Regions from separate parts of the Homo sapiens genome. Here regions 1 and 2 are each linked to region 3. The links are contacts of gene promoters, found by promoter capture Hi-C in human tissues and cell types (Jung and others, 2019). All regions are on one chromosome and are shown on one strand. Each heading gives the region's core, a stretch centred on a gene start or on the middle of the fragment in contact. The rest is flanking DNA. Distances are from core to core; before and after follow the strand shown.

Evidence for each region. The method cuts DNA at HindIII sites, captures the fragments that hold promoters and counts their contacts. A contact is called where the count stands out against the background at its distance.
Region 1: a contact is called between a fragment that was not itself captured here and the fragment with the promoter of SCP2D1 in region 3, in 2 of the 25 tissues and cell types used here (heart left ventricle and lymphoblastoid cells).
Region 2: a contact is called between a fragment that was not itself captured here and the fragment with the promoter of SCP2D1 in region 3, in 2 of the 25 tissues and cell types used here (IMR-90 fibroblasts and dorsolateral prefrontal cortex).

The regions. Positions count from the first base shown.
Region 1 is chr20:18,886,436-18,890,531 of GRCh38, forward strand. No RefSeq gene overlaps it. Among named protein-coding and RNA genes, the nearest start is that of SCP2D1-AS1, 58 kb to the left of the region's middle. The HindIII fragment of the contact is 4,771 bases long and covers 14-4,096 here.
Region 2 is chr20:18,737,051-18,740,997 of GRCh38, forward strand. All of the region lies in intron 4 of DTD1 (D-aminoacyl-tRNA deacylase 1), which reads left to right. Among named protein-coding and RNA genes, the nearest start is that of DTD1-AS1, 40 kb to the left of the region's middle. The HindIII fragment of the contact is 5,840 bases long and covers 1-3,947 here.
Region 3 is chr20:18,811,274-18,815,717 of GRCh38, forward strand. It overlaps SCP2D1 (SCP2 sterol binding domain containing 1), which reads left to right and starts at 2,510. Exons shown (of 1, transcript NM_178483.3): 1 at 2,510-3,105. The coding sequence starts at 2,543. The coding sequence ends at 3,013. The region is part of intron 2 of SCP2D1-AS1 (SCP2D1 antisense RNA 1); the gene reads right to left. The HindIII fragment of the contact is 11,706 bases long and covers 1-4,444 here.

The DNA.
Region 1 (4,096 bases), core at 1,149-3,648, 75 kb after region 3:
AGGTCCACTCTTTTTCTATTAAAATGCTTGCAAAAATTATGAATAAATGAATGGACACATATAGTTTTGAAATAGAATTTGGGTTTTGCACTAGTGTCCTTTCGAACTCCCTGAATATTCAGGGGACCAGTTTCATGGTCTTTGTCCATGGATGGCCTGCATCTCCAGTCCATGTAAAATTATACCTTGGTTCCTCATTCCCACTTCCATCCTTTCTAGCAACCAACCTCATCTCATGGAGTGATAAGGCCACTCAGAAAACACTTTGTTTTAATATTGCTTTTGCCACTGACTACCAAGGTGAACTTTAGCAAGTCATTTCTCTGGGTTTCAATATCTGTGCATGAAAAAGGAGAAGTCTGGACTAGACTGGTGGGCAAATACAAGGACAGCACATATATCTCTCCTGATTGTGCACAAGCCAGACATTGCTAATTGGTCATGCAATGTCCTTCCCACTATATTTGGATACACTCTTAGACTCTTTCTGAATCCAGAATTCCAGGCAGCCATTACAAATTAGCCAGGATTAGCACTCAAGATGAAACTGATTAGTCATCTTGGCACTAGATGACATTCGAGTTTCCTTCCAGCTCTGCTATTCTATGGTTTTCTGGTTTTAAAAGCTGGGTTGCATGGATCTCATCCTGCAGGCTGTTACTTGAGGATGATCCCAAAGGTGGAACTGGCAGCATAATTTGGAATGACCAGAGCATTCATGGGGCTCAGAAATTTCTCTAAAAATTTCTTAGCTGTCCTAAGTTTGGCTGTACATTAGAGTCACATTGGCAGTTTTTTCAAAAATTGAGGTAAAAATATATCATACATACTATAAAGTGGAACATTCTAATCTTAGCTGTACAGTTTGATGGATTTTTACGTACATAACATCTGTGTAACCACTACCTTAATCAAGACATAGAATATTTCCAGCACTCCAGGAGGAGACCTTATGTTCCTTCCTATCAACACTTGAAGGTAACCATTGTTCTGTTTTCTGTCACCGCAGATTAATTTCACCTGATCTTCAATTCTGTATAACATGTGTGGTCTTTTGTGTCTGGCATCTTTTGCTCAACCTAATGTTTTTGAGATTCATGTGTGTTGTTGAGTGCATTGATAGTTCTTTTATATTGCTGCTTAGTATTTCATTGTTTGAATATGTTACAGTTTATCCATTCTCCTGTTGATGGATGACTGAGTTACTTCCAGGTTTGGACTATTACTAGTAAAGCTTCTCTGAACATTCTTACACTTATCATTTTGTAGACCTATGTTCTCACTTCTCTAAGAGTGAAATTGCTGGGTCTGAGGGTACATGTAGAGTCAATCCTCATTATTCATGGATACTGTATTTGCAAATTTGCCTGTTTGCTAAAATATATTTGTAGCCTCAAAAATCAATACTCATGGCACTTTCACAGTCATTGATGGACATGTGCAGAGAGGTGAAAAATTTGAGTCAATTGATGTGCACATTCCCAGTAAGCCTGAACATGGCAAGGCCCCGCCTTCTTGTTTCAGTCCTCGTGCTGTAAACTGCTGTGTAGCTAGTGCCCTGTATTTTGCATTTCTGTATGTTTTTGAAGAGTGATTTCACTGTTTTAAATGCCAGCACCAAGTGTAGTGCTGAAGTGCTATGTAGTGTTCCTAAGCATAAGAAGGCTGGGATGTGCCTTTTGGAGAAAATACATGGGCTAGATAAACTTTGTTCCAGGCATTAGATTAATATGAATGTTATCAACAATATAAATTAAGTAAGAGGTCTTTAAACATAAACACATGTAAAACAAGGTTATGTATTGATTGGCTAAGTAAAGTCTTTTTCTTAAATTTGAGACAGTGTCTCACTCTGTTGCTGCTGGAGTGCAGTGCTGAAATCACTACTCACTGCAGCCTCAGCCTCCCGGGCTCAAGCCCTCCTCCCATCTCAGCCTCCCTAGTAGCTGGGACTACAGGCATACATCACTGCCTCTGGCTAATTTTCTAAAAAAATTTTGGTAAAGATGGGGGTCTCTATGTTGCCCATGCTGGTCTTGAACTCCTGGACTCAAGCAATTCTCCTACCTCAGCCTCCCAAAATACTAGGATTACAGCCATGAGCCACCGCGCCTGGCTAGCTGACCAAAATCTTGTGATCAAGGGCTGGCAGGCATCTAATCCTGCAGTTCCCCTAGGAGCAGTGGTTCAGTAGTCACCAATTTGATGTTCACTGTGACTTTATAGAACATATACTACTGCGAATAATAATAGACTGTATGTTCAACTTTAATGCCTAATAGTTTACTAACATGATCGTATGATCTAGGGAGCTTTAAAAACTGCCCTTGGTCAGGCTATGCCTAGACCAATTAAATTTGCATTTCTGGTGGGGGACCCCAGGGTAGGCGTCTTCAAGCTGCTCAAGTGGACCCACTCTACAGCTGATGTTGACCATCACGGATCGAAATATAGGGAGAGAAGACAGGGAATAACAACAGAGTGCAGCCTGTGCATAAAGCTGTCACTCAATAAAAAATGGTCAATTTTACTTAATATGCTCTCTTTGGTTTCTTTTTATTCAGGCTTTTATTCTCTTTTCTTTACGGATGGTTCATGCACATAAAAACATACAATCATGGAAAAAGCAATCTCTTGCCTGGAAAATAAATGACAAGAACTACCCTCATACCAAGGTGAAACTCTTACTCACAGACCTGGGCTTGATTATAAAGAACAAACAATGGCTTGGCAAACAGAATCACCTACCAGACATATGAACATTTATTATCACCTATGATTCTGCGCAAAGGGAGGGAGGAAATGTCTGTGTAGTAATCAGAAAGAAACTGCAATGGAAAACAAAGGAGATGATTGATTGCCAGATGCGAACGAACAGCTCGTTGTCATCAGGAAATCAGTATCTCCTACTCACAAAACTTGCAGGGCTAATTTCTGTGGTAGTCTGCACAAATTTAGCCAAGAAAATCAAATTTCCACTATCCCGAGAAGGTTAGCTCTGTTGTTGAAATTATTATAATCACTTAGTTTAAGGGGTGAGTTTTTAAGAACCACTTCTCCTTTACCAAGGCAGACAGAGCTGTCAAAGGCACCCAGCTTACCTGGTCCTCAGGCACCATATGAAGGTACTTAGGTATTTACCTCCCGGATGGAAAACGCCAACCTTTAGCACTCAGAATTGAATTGGAAATTGCTGAAGGTGTGTCTGAATTGGCCAGTGGTTCTCTAAGTGCGGTTTCTGGACAAACAGCATCAGCATTAAGTGGGAACTTGTTAGAAATGGGAACATTTGGGATCCACTCCGGTAAGGTTGTCAGAAAAAATACAGGATGCTCAGGAAAACTTGAGCTTCAGATAAGCAATAATGACTTCTTTTTTTTTTTTCTTTTTGTATAAGTATGTCCTATGCAATATGTGGGCCTAAATACTAAAAATAATGTTGTTCAACTGAGATTCAAACTTAACTGGGAATCCTATTTTTATGTGTAAATCTAGTAACCCTACACCCTACACCCCAGACCTATGGAATCAGAAACTCCTCGGGGTGCGGCTCAGTAAGTTGTGGTTCAATGAGACTTCCAGGTGATTCTGATGCTAGCTGAAGCTTGAGACCCAGTGCTCTAGTTTTAGTTCCCATCTTGCTATTGATGATAGCTCATTATCTTGCTCCCTTTGTAATTCACGTTGGTCAGGGCCCCAATTGTAAAGTGTCATGAATTGACCTCTCCAGATACAGGTGTGTGCTTCAGGGCTCACATTCCCTGGTTTCTGGCATCTGTGCCCTTTGCAGTTCACTGCCGATGCATGAGACCTCTCACCAGACAAATGGTGAGGCTGCCCGTCTCTGACCCATGGCAACCATGGGAACAATCTCCTTTGCCTCCATTGCTGCCACACTACAGTAGCTGTTTGGTTTTCTTACCTCTAAAAGTCCACCAAAGACTTGTGCCACCTGGATAAAGATATGATTAATTAAACAATGCCATCCCAGGCCTCTTTCCACAGCAGCAAATGCCACTTGACTATAGGAACCCATTAACGCAGAGCATCTGAGCAGGGTAGGTCCTGAGTGAAATAATTAGAGTCTGCATAATGG
Region 2 (3,947 bases), core at 27-2,526, 75 kb before region 3:
TTGCCTCAACTCCTCTGCCACTCCCGACAATAATGCTTCAGTTCTGCCTAGGGTGCCCCTCATTCGGCCCTTCCCTCCTGTCACCCTACTCTCATCTGGGCCTCTGTTCTTCTGCCTTTGCCTGTGTGGCCCTAACATCCTTGTCTTCAGTCATCTCTGTGTGTTGCTTTCTGCTCAGACACACTGCCCTGCCATGTGCCATCTGCCACGGTGTGCCTGGGAGTGAGTAGACACTCGGGTGATGCCAGTCCCTGGAGTGCCCCTGCCTTCTCACCCCCAACCAGGACCTGACTCCCACTCCCAGCACAGCTTTCGTTGGCCCTCCCCAAACTTGGGGCTTGCCTGCCCTGGAGACCCCCCCATACTTTGGCCACCCAGTGGCCCCACTAGGATGTGCGGATGCTAACTGCATTCTTAGGCCATCACCTGAGGGCTTGGTCCTGAGTGTCCATGTCCCATTTGCTGGGCTTCCCCTGCCTTGGGCTGCCTTGGGTCAGCAGGTGGGCCCGGGTCAGACTCTGCTCCCTCACTCTGATCTGCTTCTCCCACTGCCACTGACAGGCACACAGGGCCCTTTCCTGAGGCCAAGTGCCAGGGACATCAGAGAGCCAACACTAGGCTTGTGTCACTTCTGAGGCTTCCCCACTCTGCTCTTAGCCAGCCCTATTACTGGTTGAGTTAAACTGTTGCCGGTAATTGTATTTGATCCTCTGGCTTCTTCAGCCTTCGGGACAGAAAAGGATGGACGAATTGAGTCCTGCAGCAGCATGTTGCTAAACCACCAAGGAGCTGGACCAAGGTTAGGACCAGTTTCTCTTTAATTTGGCAAATGGAGATGGCTCTGAGGTCCCTTTATGCTTTCTACCCATGAAGACAAGTGTGCGGCTACAGAGGGCAACAGCAGAATGGTGGGGGCTCGAAGCACCCCCAGGTTCCTCTGCTTTACCCCTAATACACATCAAGTGCTTAGAGCAGGCCTGGCTTCGTGTGAGTGGGGATTGCCAATTATTTTTCCAGTGGACAGTCAGCCTCAGGAAGGCAGGGCTCTGCTTGGTTTTCTGCTGTGTCCTTGGCACCTAGAGTAGGTATAGTCAGTGCCCAACAGTTAACTGCTAAGTGAAGTTAATAGATTAAGCAAGAGAGGTCATGTGGCTCCCTGGGAAGAATGCGGGGTTTGGCGTCTGGAGGCCTGGGTGTGGTCCCCCTCAGCCGCTAGCAGGCTGCAAAACCTTAAGCAAGTCACATGACCTTGCTGGGCGTTGCTGTCTTGTTTATGTCCATGGGCATGTGGTGTAAGATTTTGCTTTCAACTTCAAGTGCCACAAACCTACATGAGGGTGGCTTATAACGTGAGGGTGGCTTAAACAGTAAGGAGCCTGGTTGCCTCCCCTAAGGGGAAAGCTGGTTCAGCTGGCTCAACTCTGCCGGGGCTCTCCAGAGACTTCTGTGCACCTCTGGATGTCCCCTCCTCGTTTTGAGAGCTGCACCATTCCGAAGCTCCGTTTCCTCCCCTGACTATGGCCAAGGATAGGAAGGAAGGCAGTGTTTCCTCTCACCTGTGTTTATTAGGGAGGGAAGCCTTTTTCCAAAGACCCTCTGCAGTCCCCTCAGGTCTTGTTGGCTATGGTTTGTGTCACATGCCATGTGACAGGAGAACCAGACATTGCCACCTCTGAAGTAGGAGACTCCTGCCAGCAGGGAGGGAGGAAGGGGCTGGGAAGATGAGTAGCTGCGGTGTAGGCAGCTGGCAGTGGCTTCTCTGTGGGACATTGATGATCATTCAACTACTATCAGGTTATTAAGAGCAAACAAGGTCACATAGGTGGAAATGCTAAGTGGGGATCCCTAACAGGTGACACATATGCACCCCATCAACATTATGGTCCAGATACATGTTTGAAAAGAAAGTGCGAATGTTCTTAGGTAGCGCTTGTCCTCTGCAGTGTGTCCTCAGGCCTTAGGTGGAGCTTGTCCTCTGCAGTGTGGCCTCAGGCCTTAGGTGGAGCTTGTCCTCTGCAGTGTGTCCTAAGGCCTTAGGTGGAGCTTGTCCTCTGCAGTGTGGCCTCAGGCTCCACCCTGCCATATTGTCTTACTCTTGGCCACTTAACTCATTTTGCTTCCTGGCTGGTCTCTCAAGGCATTTAAGTTTGCAGGCCCTGAAATCAGGCATTATAAGATCAATGTTCAACTAGTTCATTCTTAGATTGTGCAATTAGAGCTTGGGCATCTTAATTAAAAAGAAAAACGCTTATGTTTTCAGTGGATTTAATCATGAATTGGGTGAGTCTGGATCTGCATATTCCAGTCCCCCCTCTTTTGGCACACGTGTTCCCAAGCTTCACTGTGAAAGGTGCAGGCTGACCACAGGATCATCACCTGGCCCCTGGTGGTGTCTGTGTGTCCAGGGCAGCTTTTGGAAGGCTGGGTTTCTCTCTAAGGCGCTAAAGCCAGCATGGTTTGGACAGTCTCTCCCTTACAATGTGGGCTTTCTTGCCAGTTGATTAAAAACAAGCAAACAGACAAAAACCCAGAAGTACTCTATTTCAGTGTTTGTAGATTGTATGTTCACAGACCTGTAGTGGTTTATATTCTCCTTGACATGCATCTCCTCTTAATTTGAAAGCTGTTGACATTTTGCTTGAGCTCATATGCAGTACCAGTTTCTTTTCTTCTTCTTTTTTCTCATTTGTTTCCTTAAAAAAAAAAATCCAGCTGCTTTCTTGCTTTGAGATGTAAATTCCACATTTTGGCTGCATTGGATTCCAAGTTTTCCCAGAAAAGGCTTAAATTTATTAGGTTAGTTCACAATGTTCTCACAGAGAACTTGAGTTTGCGGCATGGAGCCATATGTGGTTGGGTTGTTTTAAGATAAATACTGTAAGAGAGTCAGCATTACATCACTGGCAGAAATGTGGGCTGTGCCTGTCATTTAAATAGTTATCACATGTGATTTAAAAGCTGGCTCTCGGTGGGAGGGGATAGGGTTGGAGGGGAAGGTCAGATGGATGTTTCTGCATCTGTGGTGTCTGTGCCTCTGCCTCAGCACAGAGTCGAATGACACTACGAGGAGCTGAGAAGCCTCCAGAGGGCTGTGCTAATTGGGGTTACTCCCCATCGTCCTCTCTGGATCTGGTTCTCAATAGCATAAAAGAGTACAAAGTGAAGAACAGGCTGGGTCACAAAGAGGCCTTTGCATGAGATTACTTAGCAAGGGGGAGGAGGTTTATTTAATTTTGTGACTGTTGATATTCACATTTTGTTTTTTTTTTGTTTTGTTTTGTTTTGTTTTTAATCTCTGAAGATGAGAAACAAAACTGAGAGGGCATCTTGCTTTTTAAAAATTGTACTTTCTCAGCATCTAATTTGGACCTGTTCATGAGTATTTATATATGTGTGTATATGTGTATGCATCTACACACAAGTAAGACATACAAGTATGAACACATGGATGCGAATATAAAATGTCAATTGCTGGCAGCAGAAGGCAGCTTACCACAATTTACTGCAGAACACCAATTTCAAGATATTTGGATTTTATGAATCAGGAATATAGAAAACAAAAAGAAATTGGGGAGTCTAGCATGGATTGCTAACTTATGATTTCCAAAATTGCTTAATTTTTTAAATTATAGTAAAATACACATAAAACTTACCATCTTAACCATTTTAAGTGTATAGCTTAGTAGTAATGGGTATATCCACATTGCAAAAATCCAAAATCTGTTTGCAAGAAAGGGAATGAGACAGAAGGAGTCCTGTATACTGTCCTTATCATTTCATCAAAGAAAGAGCATTTTAATACCAGAAGACAGACGAAAGGAAAGAAGCCTGTTATTTTAGATGCAGGAAATTCCTCCTAACCTGTGGCAGAATAGTCAAGAGAAAAATATTTTTCCATGGAAAAGTAATACTACAAAGAACTATGTAACAAGCAGCTCTGTGTGGCC
Region 3 (4,444 bases), core at 1,260-3,759:
ACTTTTATTATTTCTATTGGAGGACAATTCTAAAGAATGTCGTTGGGGAAGTGCTCCCTTGAGTCCTGGCATGTTTTGGATTTCTTATGTATGAGCTGTGGAACTGCATTCCCCTCGGACACACTGTGGCAGGAGAATGACAGCCCTATTGGGGACCTGCCTGAATAATTTAGATGGGACGGCGCTGTCTTTGAGGAAAATGAGATACGGGCAGTGGTGGGGCTCAGTTCTTTGTTGACTGCTTATAGTGAACTTGCTGGGGAATTCCTGCCCTCCTCATTTTAAAATCTCTGTGCTGATGTTGTCCATACCTGGTGACCTCATGGCAAGAACATGGTTTTGGAAGACACTGGGCTTTGTTTAACTGCTCAGCTTTGATAACAGCAGCTCATCCATCTTTGCAAATGTACTTTGAAGCCTTTTTCATTCTTCTGCAACATTCCCAGAAAGAACGAAGTTTCCAGCAACTCCATATAACAGAGCTTTGCTTACACATAAGAGCAGTTTGGTATAGGAAAGGATACAGGCTCCAACTTGATGAAGCTCCCTATGGCCAAATCTGGGACAATTTAGCAAGGAAATAAACAATGATAATAGTAGATTATGACCCACAGAATAAACAAATACCCACAAGTCCATGCTGAGATAAATAAATAATTGAACAAATAAAGAAATGGGAGAGAAGAGGGCAATTTTCCTTAGAGCAGAATTCCAGTTATTAAATCTCAAGGGAGTAAGAAGCATAGAAGATGACTGCTGGGCCTACCTCACACTGATTGCTGCAGGGATGGGCCATGGATGGATGCAACAAGAGTAGGCCAGAGGATGATGCAAAACAGGGCATTTGCAAGGTCTCAAGGCACCTCCCCTAAAGATACTAATCACAGAGGGAAAAACAGTAACTCTACAGTGCAGAAGCCTGAAGGAGCCGCTTTAACCAAGTGATCAAGGACAACATCGGCAGAAATGGGACATAACATCATGGACGCCTGCTATGGCACAGTGGGAAGAGCACAGGTCACCTCTGTGGCATCCTTGTCCCAAATGCATAACCTCCACCTAACCAGGAGAAAGCATCAGGCAGTCCTCAAAGGAGGGACATTTTTGGGAATAACTGGCCAGTATTCAAGTGTCAAGGTAACGATAGACAAAGATTGAAGAGCTGCCCCAGACTGCAAGGCACTAGGGAGACCTGCAACCAAATAGATATGGTCTCACATGGTCTGTAGATTAGTTAGTAGTCATGAACCAATGTGAATTTCTCAGATTAGATCACTGTACTGTGATTATATAAGATGTTAGTTTTGGGGAAAGCTGGGAGAAGGTTAAACAGGTACTATTTTTGCAAACTTTTTATAAGACTGAAATTATTTCAGAATAAAAAGTAAAGAAATAAACAGGTGGACTTTGGAGTCATTCTGCCTCTCCTCAAATCTGGCTACACTACTTACTAACTGTGTGACATTGGGCAAGTTACTTCATTTCTCCCCTCAGTTTCCTTATATGTAAAATGGGGATAAAAAGAATACCTATCTGGGAGGCCGAGGTAGGTGGATCACTTTAGCCCAGGAGTTTGAGACCAACCTGGGCAGCATGGTGAAACCCCATTTCTACAAAAAGTACAAAGATTAGCCAGGTGTGGTGGCACACGCCGTATTCCCAGCTACTTGGGAGACTGAGGTGGGAGGATCAAATGAGCCCAGGAGGCAGAGGCTGCTGTGAGCAGAGATCGCGCCACTGTACTCCAGCCTGGGTGACAGAGCAAGACCTTGTCTCAAAAAAAAAAAAAAAAAAGAAAAAATACCTATCATAGAGGGTTGTAATGAGAGTTAAATGTGTTAATACATGTGTAGTACTTAGAACTCTGCACCTTGGCCCAGAGCAAGGGCTATACTATTACGTGTAATTATCAGAGGAGACTGGCAGCATCTTCTGATCTTAGGGACATTTAATCTCTCTGTGTGTGTCTCACTGTGCTTCTGGAAAGTTTCTGATGCAGGCTCCTGGACTGATTCCTTCTCCAATCAATTACTCTGGCCTAAAAGCATTTCCCTTTCTACCAGCAGCCAGATAAAGCCAAATTCAGCACTAGGATCTGTAGTATTAACTTAAGTATTACCCACTTAATGGGACTTAAGTGTTACCTAGTTTTAGAGGAATAAGAATAACTTCTGTCTCACGTTGGGTTTCACTGAGGAGATGTCTGCATTGGAAAGACAGAGCTCATGTCACTAAAGAAGCTTCTGGGGCCAGTTTCCCTTAACCCCATTGCAGCCTGCAGACCTTTTGGGCTTGCAGGACCAACATCCCTGATTGGTTTGGGAGGGGCGTGTGTGTGTGGATCTGCCTCACAATGGCCTGTCTGAGCCCTTATCTGAGGTCACACGTTATCATTTGTTTGGCCAATAAGACTGTAGCACACACACCAGCTTCAGTCCCCACTTGGCCTTACCTTTGATGTCACAATCTGACCTGTGGGTATTAATCTGGTCACAGCTGCTCACAGACTAGATGGCAAGGTCCAGGGGACTAGCACAGGAAGATGTGGAAGAGAAGTGACCATCAACCCAAGATCAAAGCAGAGGATGGACCTCTGGTGGGCCAGTTCGAGGTTCTGGGTTCAGTTCCAGAACCTGCCATGCCACATCCTCTAGAGCTGTCAGAATTTGAGAGCTTCCCAGTGTTTCAGGACATTAGGCTTCACATCAGGGAAGTGGGAGCTCAATTGGTCAAGAAAGTCAATGCCGTCTTTCAGCTGGACATCACCAAAAATGGGAAGACCATTTTGCGGTGGACCATTGATCTGAAGAATGGTTCTGGGGACATGTATCCGGGACCTGCCAGGCTCCCAGCAGACACTGTCTTTACAATCCCGGAGTCTGTCTTTATGGAGCTGGTTTTGGGCAAAATGAACCCGCAGAAGGCTTTCCTTGCCGGAAAGTTCAAAGTGAGTGGCAAGGTTCTGCTTAGCTGGAAGCTGGAAAGGGTTTTCAAAGACTGGGCTAAATTTTAAGCATGCAAAAATACCAAGGAAGAACTTCTCTTCGATGATAATGTCGAGTGGAAATCATGCTTAATCTGAAGATTAAAGTAAAAAGTATCCAATATTTTTACTCAAATTCTTCCTATTCAAGTTTAATTGATTTTCCTGTTGATGGGTAAATTTTCAGGGAGGGTTCTGAAGCAGTAAAAAGCGTTGTAGTGCATCAATTAGAATCTTTGTCTTTTTCTCTTTTTTTAGCTCCATTTATGCCCTTTATGCTCCATTTATGCCAGGGTGAGAGCCACGTGTAAAGAAATGGGTGATTATGATCATTGGAATTAAATACTCCAATGATTGTGTTCTTGAGACATTTTTCCTTTTCTAAAAAAGTTTGATGTTTTGGGGAAAGAAGTGATAACTATCATTGTGCAGGTGTGCATTCTGCATGGTAACTTGATTCCATGAGGAAACTTTACTATGAGACTGTGGGGTGCTAAGGGAATGGGGCACCACAGGTCTGTGGGTGGAACCCAGGCAATAGAGGGGATGGTGCTGTTGGTGTATTATAATTTCTGATGGTTTCAATTCCAAGAAACTTGAAGGGCTTGGGAGGTGTTCTAGGCCAGTGGTTCTTAACTGGAGCATGCATCAGAATCACCGGAAAGGTTGGTTAAAGTCTGGATTGCTGGGCTCCATCTCAGAGCTTCTACTCAGGAAATCTGGGCTGGAGAGAATGCACATTTCTAACAAGTTCCCAGGGGATGCTGATGGCACCACCCTTAGAGAATTCCAGCTCTGCTTCACTTCATGCCAAAGCTCTCAGTATTGACTGTAACTATTCTATTCTAGGCCAATGAGATGGTGCCATTAATTAAAGGATCTCCCAGAGACAGACCCCACAGCCCTCTGTGAGCCATTTATAAAGTATCCATGCTGTCAGGAGCTTGTGCATTGAACATTTTACAAAATCAGAGGGCAGCCTGGGAGATTTCCCTTCCGGAAGCTCCCTTCACATGTTGTCTGGGAGGATAGGATGAAGTCTGTTGCAGCTGATGCAAACTCCTTGTGGGTGAGTGTGTGTGTGTTCTTGGTTCACATGTGGTTTGTGTGTACCTTTGACTTGTGGGCTAAATATACACAGTGTGGATACTCTGAAACCTAGAGGAAAGTTTCATCACAACTGCCATGCTCAAACACCTACACAGTGTGGACACTCTGAAACCTGGGTGGAAGTTTCATCACAACTGCCATGCTCAAATACACGCCTACCAAATAATCCCACCATTCTGTTCTTGGGTATTTTGTTAAGAGAAAAGAAAGCATATGTACAAGCATAAAATAAACACTCGCATGCATGTGAATGTTCATGGCAGCTGTGTTGGGAGTAGTCCTAAACTGGAAACAAGCCACATGTTCATCAACAGGTGAATGGGTGGACAAATTGTGCGGTGTCATACCATG